Linked DNA regions of Homo sapiens: region 2 is linked to region 1. The links are contacts of gene promoters, found by promoter capture Hi-C in human tissues and cell types (Jung and others, 2019). All regions are on one chromosome and are shown on one strand. The core of a region is centred on a gene start or on the middle of the fragment in contact, and the rest is flanking DNA. Distances in the headings are between cores, read along the strand shown.

Evidence for each region. The method cuts DNA at HindIII sites, captures the fragments that hold promoters and counts their contacts. A contact is called where the count stands out against the background at its distance.
Region 2: the fragment with the promoter of RASGRP2 here is called in contact with a fragment that was not itself captured in region 1 in 1 of the 25 tissues and cell types used here (spleen).

The regions. Positions count from the first base shown.
Region 1 is chr11:64,890,921-64,896,748 of GRCh38, reverse strand. ATG2A (autophagy related 2A) reads left to right here. Exons shown (of 41, transcript NM_015104.3): 38 at 1; 39 at 133-287; 40 at 1,307-1,459; 41 at 1,540-2,203. The coding sequence ends at 1,776. MIR194-2HG (MIR194-2 host gene) reads left to right here and starts at 3,300. Exons shown (of 3, transcript NR_133640.1): 1 at 3,300-3,338; 2 at 3,923-4,159. It overlaps MIR192 (microRNA 192), which reads left to right and starts at 5,503; the gene lies at 5,503-5,612. MIR194-2 (microRNA 194-2) reads left to right here and starts at 5,310; the gene lies at 5,310-5,394. The HindIII fragment of the contact is 4,598 bases long and covers 318-4,915 here.
Region 2 is chr11:64,741,288-64,746,612 of GRCh38, reverse strand. RASGRP2 (RAS guanyl releasing protein 2) reads left to right here and starts at 2,471. Exons shown (of 17, transcript NM_001098671.2): 1 at 2,471-2,610; 2 at 3,676-3,819; 3 at 4,501-4,603; 4 at 5,112-5,174. The coding sequence starts at 3,747. It overlaps PYGM (glycogen phosphorylase, muscle associated), which reads left to right. Exons shown (of 20, transcript NM_005609.4): 20 at 1-215. RefSeq lists silencers at 1,355-1,554, 1,805-1,914, 2,905-2,954, 3,115-3,164, 3,475-3,804 and 1 more. The HindIII fragment of the contact is 18,641 bases long and covers 1-5,325 here.

The DNA.
Region 1 (5,828 bases), core at 1,367-3,866:
TGTGAGTGTCTAGGTTTGGAAGCCCTCGAAACTGCTTTTACCCTTGGGCAACCTAGAAGCTGCCATTGGGAATAAGAGGAGGAGGTGGGGGCAGGGCAGCCTCGGGTGTCTCTGAGCGCTCCTTCCCCCTAGTCCAAGGGTTCCGGGACCTGCTGTGGCTGCCCATTGAGCAGTACAGGAAGGATGGCCGCCTCATGCGGGGGCTGCAGCGAGGGGCTGCCTCCTTTGGCTCATCCACAGCCTCTGCCGCCCTGGAACTCAGCAACCGGTTGGTACAGGCTATCCAGGTGAGTGGGTGCCCTGTATCTGGGCTGTGCAGGACAGAGCAGCTGGAGCCCTCTGCACCACAGCTCCCTGGTTCTGTCCTCAAAGCTCCTCAGAGTGGGCAGTCTGGGTATGACAGCCCTACTTTATAGAGAAACAGCCACGGAGAGGCTAAGTGACTTGCCTGGGACCTCCAAGCCAGGTCTCCCGAGGCCCACAGGGGCTCCCATGCAGGAGCGGGAGTGCCCCCCAGGCCTTCAGAGCCCACTGTGTCTCCTGCTCATGGCATGTCTTGTAAAGGGGGGTGGAGGACGGCTGTGTTTGCAGACTAAGAATCTGAGGCGCAGAGGCTGCCCTGGTTCATTCAGGCCATACGCTTCGCTAGGCCAGAAGGACCCCAGGGAAGCTGGGGAGCCAGTCTCGTGGGCAGTTGTCAGATGAATTCTGTAGGGGATCGATGGTCCTAGGCGGCTAAGGGGTGAGTGCAGGTGCATGGTGCATTCTGGAACCTGCAAGCTCAGACCCCAACAGGACAGAGGGCAGGGCTCCAGGGGAGGTGGGAGGGATGCATGGGCACCAGGGAGCCCCCGGGAGTGTTCAGTCAGGTGGGAAAGAGTGATGCCAGGTGAGATGCTGGGCAGAGGATCTGGCAGACAGAAGGAAGGATGGGCCTCTGACCATCTGGCAGGGGCGTCTGGGGGGCCAGGCAAGGAGCGGTCAGTCTCAGGCGTGCAGCTGCGGCAGCCATGTGGAACCTGCTGAATGTGGTGGTCAGCAGGAAGAGAGGTTTGGGTTGAGAAGACTTTAGGAAAGTCCCCTGAGGAGTCCCACGTTCCTAGGTTCCCTCAGCAGAGTGGCAGGTGCCTAGGAAGGGGAGGAAGAGTGGGAGGAAGTGGGGAGTGAGGCTGAGCAGGACCCCCTAGGCCAGCACAGTGACAGGCAGGGAGGCTGAGGGCTGGTGGGGTCTCAGACTGTCCTGGGGGCCTGGGGCTGACGTGTGCCCCAGCCAGCTGTCCTCATCCAGTGCTCCCATGTCCCCCAGGCCACAGCTGAGACCGTGTATGACATCCTGTCCCCGGCAGCCCCCGTCTCCCGCTCCCTGCAGGATAAGCGCTCTGCGCGGAGGCTGCGCAGGGGCCAGCAGCCTGCCGACCTGCGGGAGGGTGTGGCCAAGGCCTACGACACAGTGCGAGAGGTGACCAGGCCCCCGCCCTGCCCCAGTCCCCCATGCCCATCTCCTCACACAGACCCCGCCCTGACCTCTGGCTTCCACAGGGCATCTTGGATACAGCTCAGACCATCTGTGACGTGGCATCGCGGGGCCATGAGCAGAAGGGGCTGACGGGCGCCGTGGGGGGCGTGATCCGCCAGCTGCCCCCGACTGTGGTGAAGCCGCTCATCCTGGCCACGGAGGCCACGTCCAGCCTGCTCGGGGGCATGCGCAACCAGATTGTCCCCGACGCCCACAAGGACCACGCCCTCAAGTGGCGCTCGGACAGTGCCCAAGACTGAGCCTGGGGTGCCCGGCACCCAGAGGGTGCTGCCCACCATGCTCCTGAGCCTCCCAAGAGCTGCAGCCCACGGGCCCGGCCCGGCCTGGCCCTTCAGGGGATGGCCACTGTGAAGGACGCCTTCCCAGCCTGCCCGTTGCCAATCTGCTGTGAGAGGGGGGCCTCCCTGCCTTGGGGCCTTAGCCCTGGCTCTGCACTTTTCCTCCGGGGAGAAAGGACACTGCCCCTCCCCCGACCTGGGCCCACACTGCTGCCTTCTCCCAGGACGGAGGCTTTTGGACCCTCGGACCCCATCCCACTCAGCCAAGTGTCTTTCTGTGTCTGGGGGGAGGAGGGGATGATATCCGTGTGGTTCGATGTATTATTTTTAAGCTCCGTGAGTGCGTGGGTCAGTGTCTGCATGAAGTGGAATAAACTGCCCACCGCCAGCCCCCCTCTCAGATCCTCTGTCCCTGTGAACCCTGGCCTCAGCCTTGACCTTGGCCCCGCCCCAGATCCCACCTCTGCACCCAGCACCTCCCATGTCACCACCAGGGGTCGCCATGCCTCCTGGCCTTGCCCAGCAGATCAGGGCACAGGGGGACCCAGAGGCACCCAGCCCTGCACGCCTTCCCCTGGCTCTGGGCTCTGCCTTGCCCCTCCCAGGAGGCTGCCACTCCAGCCCCACTCCTGATGTGGCAGGAGCTACGTGGGGCTGCCAGGGGAGGGAGGGATGGTCCTTGGAGCCCAGCTGACCCTGCCTGGTTGTCACTTGAGGCCACTCGGGGAAGGCTGAGCCTGAGGCATTCTAGATGTTGCTCTCACCATCCCTAGTGGGGGCTTTTGGGGTGGCCCAGGCCTTGGCCCCTTGGTTTCCACTCTGATCTGGGGTCCCAGCTCCAGCACTTGGAGGGGGGAGGGGTGCTGGAGCAGCGCTGCAGCCGGAATCCCAACCCTCACTGCACAAAGCTTTACACAGGACCAGGGAGCGCCCATTGCCCCCCACACATCTTGTTTCTTGTGAGCTGCTCCCATCGCGCTCCTCCCTGCCCTGCTTCCCAGTGGCGCTGCACAGAGGTGGGTGGGTCCATGGGGAAACCAAGGCTCGGGTTGGGAATCAGGGAACCCTCACCTTGCTAGGTTCCGCAGGCCTCTGGGGTTAGCAAAGGTCCCCCAGCCCTGCTCTGTGGCCCCTTCTGAGTGGGGGAGATCTGGGTACTGGGAACAGAGCAGAAGCTTTGTCCCGAGGGACCCTGGGGTCCTGGCTGCCCACGGACAGCTGGGGCAGCAGGCTGGTAAGAGACCAGGAGGGCGAGGCCCTGGAGGAGACAGGGCTGTGGAGACTCGGTGCTGATGCCACCCGGAGAGGCAGATGGGGCCCAGCCTGATGCTTCCTGGACCCGCCCCACCCTGCCCGGGCACAGTCCAGGGCTTCCTGCCCTTCGAACCGCACTTGTGATCAGTATTGACGGTGGTGGGATAATCATTAACCACCACCAGGGGCTGGGTCAACGGCTCAAAAGGCCCTGGGCCCAGGGTGTCCCCACTTCCTCCTTGTGCCCCGAAGGCCAGCCCGGCACTCAGGTAAGAGGCTTCCTGAGTGGTAGGACCCCTGCCGCCCTCCCTGTCCTAGGAGGCTCCTGAACCCAGGCACCTCTCTGAAGGGTGGCCAATCCTGAGGAAGAAAGGGACCTGGACAGCCATGGGGTGGCCGGGACGAGCCCCTTCCTCTCTGTGCCTTGGTTTCCACTGTGGGATAAGGGGGCCTTAGCATCAGCGCTCAGAGCTGTGGAGCCAGGATTCCTGATCGGGCGCTGTCTCTGCCAGGCCAGGGCACTTGGACACCACGCTGCAGGAGGCTGGTCTCGCCCAGGCCTCTGTGGGAAGGGCCGCCAGGCTGAGTGGAGGGCCAGCCACCAGCTACGGTGTCTTCCTTCGCAGGTCTGTCCCCCCAGGCAGAAGGATTCCAGCCCAGGGATCCCCCATCCCACCCTGACTGCATCCTGAGAAGGGGGGACGCCACTTCGGGAAGGTTGTTGGGGCAGCACAGGCCCTGGGGCCCTGCTCTGTGACCTTGGGCGGCCCCCTCTGTCTCTCTAGGCCTGTATGCACCACTGGCAAAGGGGGCAGGGCCCAAGTCTACTCTAAAAGCTCCCCTTTCTCTCCAGAAGCTTTGGAGTCTCCCAAAATGCCTGCTGGGTCTCTGCAGGACTGGCACCTGTCACCGGAACCTGTCTGGGAGGGACGAGAACACGCTTTGCAAGAGGAAGCTCTGCCTCACAGAGCCCTGGGCTCACTCAGGGACCCTGGCCAGCAGCTGCTTCCTCTCCCCACAGCGGAGAGAGACCCAAGGGTCCCAGGGCGGATGCTTCCCACCAGGCCAGCCCAGCGTGCAGGGTGGCCTCGTAAGTCCTGATTGACATATGGACAGTGGTTCAGAGAGGTTACGCTACTTGCTCAAGGTCACCCAGCTCCCAGGCCCCTGCTGTCTTCCAGGCCACTGAGGTCCTAAGCGTCCTTCCAGGCGAGCCACTGCTCACAGCCTGTTCCTCATGTTCTGCGGCAGGTTTGTGTATCTACATCTTTTCCAGTTCCCTGTCGTCCCCCTTCCTACACCTCGTCATCCACTATCCCTGTTTGTTTTCTCTGTTCCTTTCTAGTTCTCTACCTGCTCCTCTTATTTTTATTTGAGACAGGGTCTTTCTTTGTCACTGAGGCTGGAGTGCAGTGGCACAATCCCAGCTCACTGGAGCCTCGACCTCCCAGGCTCAAGTGATCCCCCGCCTCAGCCTCTTGAGTAGCTGGGACCACAGGCATGCATCACCACACCAGGCTAATTTTTTATTTTTTGTAGAGATGGGGTCTCACTGTGTTGCCCAGGCTGGTCTTGCACTCCTGGGCTCAAGAGATCCTCCCACCTTGGTCTCCCAAAGTGCTGGGATGCCAGGTGTGCACCGCCATCCTCGGCCTTACTCTTCTCTTCCTCTCTCAGCCCCTCTGCCTCACTATCCCTCTTTCTGTGCCCTCCCCCACACAGCCCCCCACACTTCTTCTTAGTCTCATCTTCAGCTTCCCATACGAGGCCATCCTCATGAAATCAGGCACTGGGAGGTCCCTGGGGACTGACAAGTGCCAGCTGTCCCTTGCTGTCTCTCTGCCCCATGGCTGCAGCAGGGAGGGTGGGCAAAGGGCAGAGGTGACAGTGGCCAAACCTGAAACTGAGGCCCAGCTCTGGTTGGGAAAGAAACAAGGAAACAAAATAACTTGGGGACAGAGGGCGTGGGGTCATCAGAGCGGGCAAAGGCTGCCCAGGAGTTGTAAATCCGAGCCGCTCCCGGCTTTATGAGGCCGATTTGGGGTTGAGCCTGGACTTTGCCCAGGAAGGAGTGCTGGCAGCACACGGGGCGCCAGGTGTGGGCCCCGGATGATAAGAAGCCTCGGTGAAAAGACCATGGACCTGGGGCCACGAAGACTGGGGAGCCCAGGTGAGTGGGCATGGGACACTCTCCAGAGCCCTGCCGAAGGCGGACGCCAGGCAGGGCCCCGGTCTCCAATTGGTTCCCGCCCCCTGTAACAGCAACTCCATGTGGAAGTGCCCACTGGTTCCAGTGGGGCTGCTGTTATCTGGGGCGAGGGCCAGTACCCACGAAGAAGGAGAGGCAGGTGCTGGCCAGCAGACCAGCCAGGACTACCGTGGCGACGCTCCCAGGCCAGATGGTGGCGGGTAGTGGAGGGCTGTCGGTGGGCTGCCGAGACCGAGTGCACAGGGCTCTGACCTATGAATTGACAGCCAGTGCTCTCGTCTCCCCTCTGGCTGCCAATTCCATAGGTCACAGGTATGTTCGCCTCAATGCCAGCCACCAGGACCTGCAGGGATAGGGGAGGGCCGGGGGTGTCCAGCAGTCAGCAGAGATCCTGCGACCCCAGTGCAGCACTCATGGTCCCACCTCCCTCTGTCTCATTCCCCGTGAATGAGCCTGAACAGCTTCAGTCCTGCCCCTGCCCTGCCTGCCCTGTGGCACCTCTATGCTTTGCCCATGCTGTTCCCTTGGGCTGCAATACTCTTCCTAGCTT
Region 2 (5,325 bases), core at 1,222-3,721, 150 kb after region 1:
CTTGGGCCAGCCCCAGCACCTCATGCAGAGGGTGGGGTACTGGAGTTAGATCTCTAAGCCCCTCCTGGAACCCTCATTTTCCCCACTCTCAATGTCCCAGTGTCCAGCGTGACTAAGGACACGGGCCCCCTTCCGTCCTCGGGCTCCCGGTCCCCTCCTATTTATGGGGTCTGACCAACTGCACCCACTCCCTAATAAATTCATTCTCCTTGGGAGCCTCCTTACTCCTCTTTGTTGGGAAATATTTTTAGCTCTTGGCGGGCTCAACAGCAGCCGCGCAGTCACCCCCTTATCCTCCACCCTCGGCAGGTGCGTCCCACGGCGGGACGGTGATGGGAGGTGGAGGGGGCGACCCGTGGGGGCGGGGCCTAGGCCTCTCCAGCCCCTTTCCTGGCGTCACCCTCCACGCCTCTCTTCCCAGTGCCGTGTCCATACTAGGTCAGCGGCCAGCCTCGCTGGCCGGGGGCGGGGCGTCTGCCTGGGTGGGGCCCACCGGGGCTGGGAGCCGGGACTTGGGCTGAGGCTTCCCGGACCACGGAGGATCCGCGCTGTCGAGGGCAGGACCCAGGAGGGGGAGGAAGCAGAGGATGCTCGGCGCCTTCTTGGCTCCGCCCTTAGCCCCGCCCTACTGCGGCGTTTAAGGGTCTCTTAGCAGGTGGCTACACTGGATCCAAAGTCGGGGGAGTGTTACGGCAGGGAACACTCGCAGACCGCCTAGTCTAGGCCCTCATTATGGGGAAACTGAGGAACAGAAAGGTCCTGTTTCTAAGTCTTACATTACCAAGACTGAGGTGCGGGGGCGGTCCTGGATCCCCCGCCCCAAGGCTGGGAGGGGCACGCCTCGGAAGGGAGGTTTGGGGTCGGTGGTTTCACAGTGAGTGTGTCTGAAGCCAAATGGTCGGAAACCGTTACCCGCTCTCCTAGGCCCGGCTAGTGGGGACCCCAACCGCCTGCGGCTGCCCCTCCCAAGTTCCTCCCTGTTGGCCAGGCATCCAGGTCTCCAGTCTCCGAGCTGCGGAGAACCCACCGCCACATGCGGCTGCCCCTTTCCATTCGACCCTGTGGGGAGCCAGGCTTCCGGGGCCCCGTTCCTCCTGTGTGAACTGGGCCCCCCGCCCCCATTCCCAGACATCAAGGCCGCGTCTCCAGATAGCCACGATTTCATTCCTCGCTCCCCACAGGTCCCTCTCCCCAAAATATTCCCATCTTGTCCTAGCCCATCCCCCAGACTATCTCAAGGACCAGCTGTCCCCACGCCCCCGACCTCCACTAGGCCTGTGCCACCCGCTGCCTGCAGGAAGACGCCCGGTCCCGGGCCGGGTTAGCCCCATGGGAACGGTTTGTCTCGAAAACAGGAACCCGAGCTGGGGGCTGGGCGGGGCGCCCCTTCCCCACCGCAGTCCGCTTCCTGCCCCTCCCGGCTTCCTCCGCCCGACACCCAGGCAGGGCGGGGGGCACTGGGGCGTCCGCGGTTGGGGGAGGGGCTCTTCGTTTCGGTCCCCCCTCCGCGTCCCGGGCGGCGGGGCCTCCGGTCGCCCGCCCTCGGGGCAGCTAGTGGCGCAGCCCCCCGCCCGCGGCCCTGGCCTCCCGGGCGGCGCGGCAGGGGAGGGGTTAAGCTGCCGCAGGGACCGCCGCGTGCGGGGCGAGAGGGAGCCCCCGGTGGGGGTGGCGCAGCCGGCGGTGCGGAGCTCCGCGCAGGGGCGGAGGGGGGAGGGGGCAGCCTGGCGCGGGGGCGGGGGCGGGGCGGCGGGGAGCGGGGCCGCGGCGTGGAGAGCGGGCGGGAGCCGCAGCCGCAGCGAGGCCGGCGGGCGGGAGCGCACGGAGGTGGGGTCGGCCAGGCCGGTGCGGGCTCCTTGCGGCAGGTCCCAAGAGTGAGTGGGCGAGCGCGGGCGGGGCGCCAGGCGAAGGAGGGCGCGGCCCCCAGCGACTCCCCCCCCGCCCAGGGCGGCGCGGGCGGGCTGGGGGCGGCGAGCGGGTGGGGAGTCTGCGGCCCGGGTCTGGGAGAGGGGGCAGCGGCCACGAGAGCTAAGGCGCGCTGGATCCCCGGAGGGCGGAGGACCTCCACGGTGCACCCAGCTTTTCCCAGCCACCTTCCAGCGGGGCCCTCCCCCGCGTACCCCCATTTGGCAGATGAGAAAATTGAGGCTCCCAGAGGCCAAGTGATTCTCAAGGTCACACGAGGAAGCGGTAGAGCCAGGCGGGGACGGCTCTGGGTGGCTCTTAGGAAAAGTCCGCCTGAGAACTCCGTACAGGAGCTCCCCTGTCCTCCAGCCTGGGGGAGTGAGTATGTGTAGGGCCGGGGTACCTTTCCGTGGGGCAAGGCTCTGCCAAAATCTGGGAGTGAGGGGAGTCAGGGAGCTGGGGCCGCAGGGCGGGCCCTGCACCGCAAATGGGAGGGGGGCGACGGAATGGGCGTGCGCACCCATGGGGGTGTGTGCATGTGTGTGGGAGTGTACATGCGTGGAGAGGCACTGCCTTGCGTGTGTGCACACGTGTGAGGATGTCAGCGCCTGTGTGGCCGCGGGACTCAAGGCTGGCCTGGCTCAAGTGAACAGCACGTCCAGGAGGCGACCTCGTCCGCGGGTTTGCATTCTGGGGTGGACGAGCTGGGTATGTGTGCCTGAGGGTTTCTTCGTGCAGGTGTGCACAGGGTGTGGGTGCCATTGTGTGTGAGAGACGGAGGATGGGAGGCCGGTGCCTGTGGCCCGGTGCGTGTAAGTGCGGACGCCTGCACCTCCACTTAGGTCCCCGGCCTCCGACGAATAACTTGGGTGTGGAGTGTTTGCCCCTGCCAGGGTGCGTATGACCCCGCCAGTGACCGGAGTTGCTAATGGTGTCATGCACCCACCGGCCACCCTTGGCGCGAGCGCCCCCCTCTGGACACCCTGCTCCGTGCGCGCTCACAGTTCGCCTGTGCGGGGCCGGGGCCAGGGTCAGGAGCCGGGGATAGGGAGGAAGAGGGCCTGTGGACAAGCTGAGCCGGGACCCCTGGGACCTTTGCGGAGGTGGCCTGGGAGCGCTCAGTTCCCAGGCTCAGGCTTCCCGCTGACGCCTCCTGGCCGCAGCGGGCTCCCCCCGCCCCAGGAATGTTCCTCTCCCATCCAGTCCGCCTCCCCTAGGGCAGGCCCCCTGGGGGCTGCCGCAGCCCCGCCTCGCCTTCCTGGGCTCCCGGGAGGGGGCGAGGCGGGCAGGACGCCTGGGTTCTCTCCCCCCACCTCCCATACCAGGGAGAAATTCCTCCGAGGTCCCCTCAGGCTCTGGGTTCCCAAAATAACCCTGCGGGGGAAGGGAGGCTGTGGAGGGAGGGAAGCGGGAGGGGCGCAGAGCCGAGCTGCGGGGTGCTGCAGGTGCCTCTGGGGAGAGGGCGCGAGGAGAAGGCGCCCTGCGGGGGGCTGGGCGCCAGCCAGTCCTGGGATCTTGGTTCGTCCCCATCCTCGTGAAGCCCCTCGGCCTTCCCGCGACTCCGAGGGTGGGCCGGAAGCCTCTCTGCGGGTCCGTTTCCCAACTGGCGGGTTGCACCATCCCGGGCCAGACCGTTTAACCCCGGGAGTGGCCGCGGGGGACAACTCCGCCCCTGTCCAGCAGGGGGCGTGCCCGCCCCGCCCCGTTTCTGCCCGCGGGGCCGCTCCCCCGCCCGCGACTCCGCAGACTCCCGCTCTGCCTCTCCCGGGACAGGGGTTCGGTCCGAGCCCGGTGGGAGGCTCCCGGAGCGCAGCCTGGGCCCAGCCCACCCCGCGCCGGCGGCCATGGCAGGCACCCTGGACCTGGACAAGGGCTGCACGGTGGAGGAGCTGCTCCGCGGGTGCATCGAAGCCTTCGGTGAGTGGCTCGGGAGGGCACACGGAGCCTGAGCCTAGCCCCGAGTCTGAGCCCGGGTCCCTGCCTCCCAGGCACAGTCCAGGGCACAGCCCTGACCCGGACCCACCCTGCTCCGCAGCGTGCAGTCTCTTTAACGAAAGCCTCCTCCGCAACGCAGGGCAGAGAGATGCACGCCCTTCAGACAGATGAGGTTTCCCTTCTCTAGCCTTCCCCAGCGGCGGCGAAGGGAGGGCCGGGTCCCGGACTCTGACACTTGAGGGGCATTATCTGTCTCCCGGGGAATCCGGAGGAACTCGCTATCTCCGGCCTGGGAGCTGTTTCCGGCTAATGGGGGGCGGCTTATCTGGTGAAGGGGTGCCCCTTCCCCCCAAGCGCTCAGGAAATGACCTCTGGATTCTTGACCCCGGGGAACCCAGGCTCCTTCCGCCCCAGCTGGTTCCCCTCCGGACGATGGGCGGCTCGGGCGCTCCCCTCCTCCAGTCCTCAGGGCGTGCCTATCTCTCGCCCACCACACCTTTCCTCTCTAATTTGCCTCCTGCTCTCGGAGTCCTGGGCAAGCAGGAGGTGGGCGGGGTCGAGCGTGCACCCGAAGGACCGATACCTGGCGGGTTGCGGGGTGAGGATGAGGCATGGTAGCTGCGGACCCAGCTCAGCCACCTGTCTTTGACCCTTCGGAGTCAGATGACTCCGGGAAGGTGCGGGACCCGCAGCTGGTGCGCATGTTCCTCATGATGCACCCCTGGTACATCCCCTCCTCTCAGCTGGCGGCCAAGCTGCTCCACATATATCCTTCGCCGGCCTTGCCAAGGCCCCCGCCGTCGGAGCCCATGCGCAGCCCCTCTGCCCAGCCCAGGTGCAGAATGAGCCTCGCTCCTAAGTATAGGCCACTCCTTATCCCAGAGCTCAGGCGTCGTCCCAGCCTCCAACTAGGGCCTAGGCTCTGCCCCCTCCTTGCTCCTAGCGACTCGGTCCTGTCCCCAGGCTCTGTCCCCAGCCGAGGCCTTGCCCTCCTTCTCCCTAGAGTCTGGGGCCTGCCCCTGCTTCAGGCTTGGGTGCGCCCCGTGCATCTCTCTCTCCCAGAGCCCAGGCTTTGCTTTCAGCCTCCCTCAGCACCTAGTCCTCCACCCCCACCTCCAACCCCTCCCAGAGCTCAAGCCTCACCCCCAGCATCTCCGCAGAGCGCAAGCCCCATCCCTAGAACGTGTCTCCTAGAACCAGGCCCCGCCCCCAGCCTCCCTCCACGCAGGCCTCCCTTTCTAGAGTTAAGCGGCCTCCTTAACCCTCTCCTTCACCTACCAACAATCCCGGAAGGACAACTCCAATTCCCTGCAGGTGAAAACGTGCCACCTGGTCAGGTGAGTCTTTCCCCTGGGGCTCTAGCCCCTCCCCTTTCTCCCTTCTCTCTGGCTTCAGGCTGGCCTGGAGGAGGGGGCAGGGCGCTGTTTCTGGGAGTGGGTTTGAACCCTGGCTTGTCCGGGTGGGCAGTGCTGCCACAGGCTCACCCCT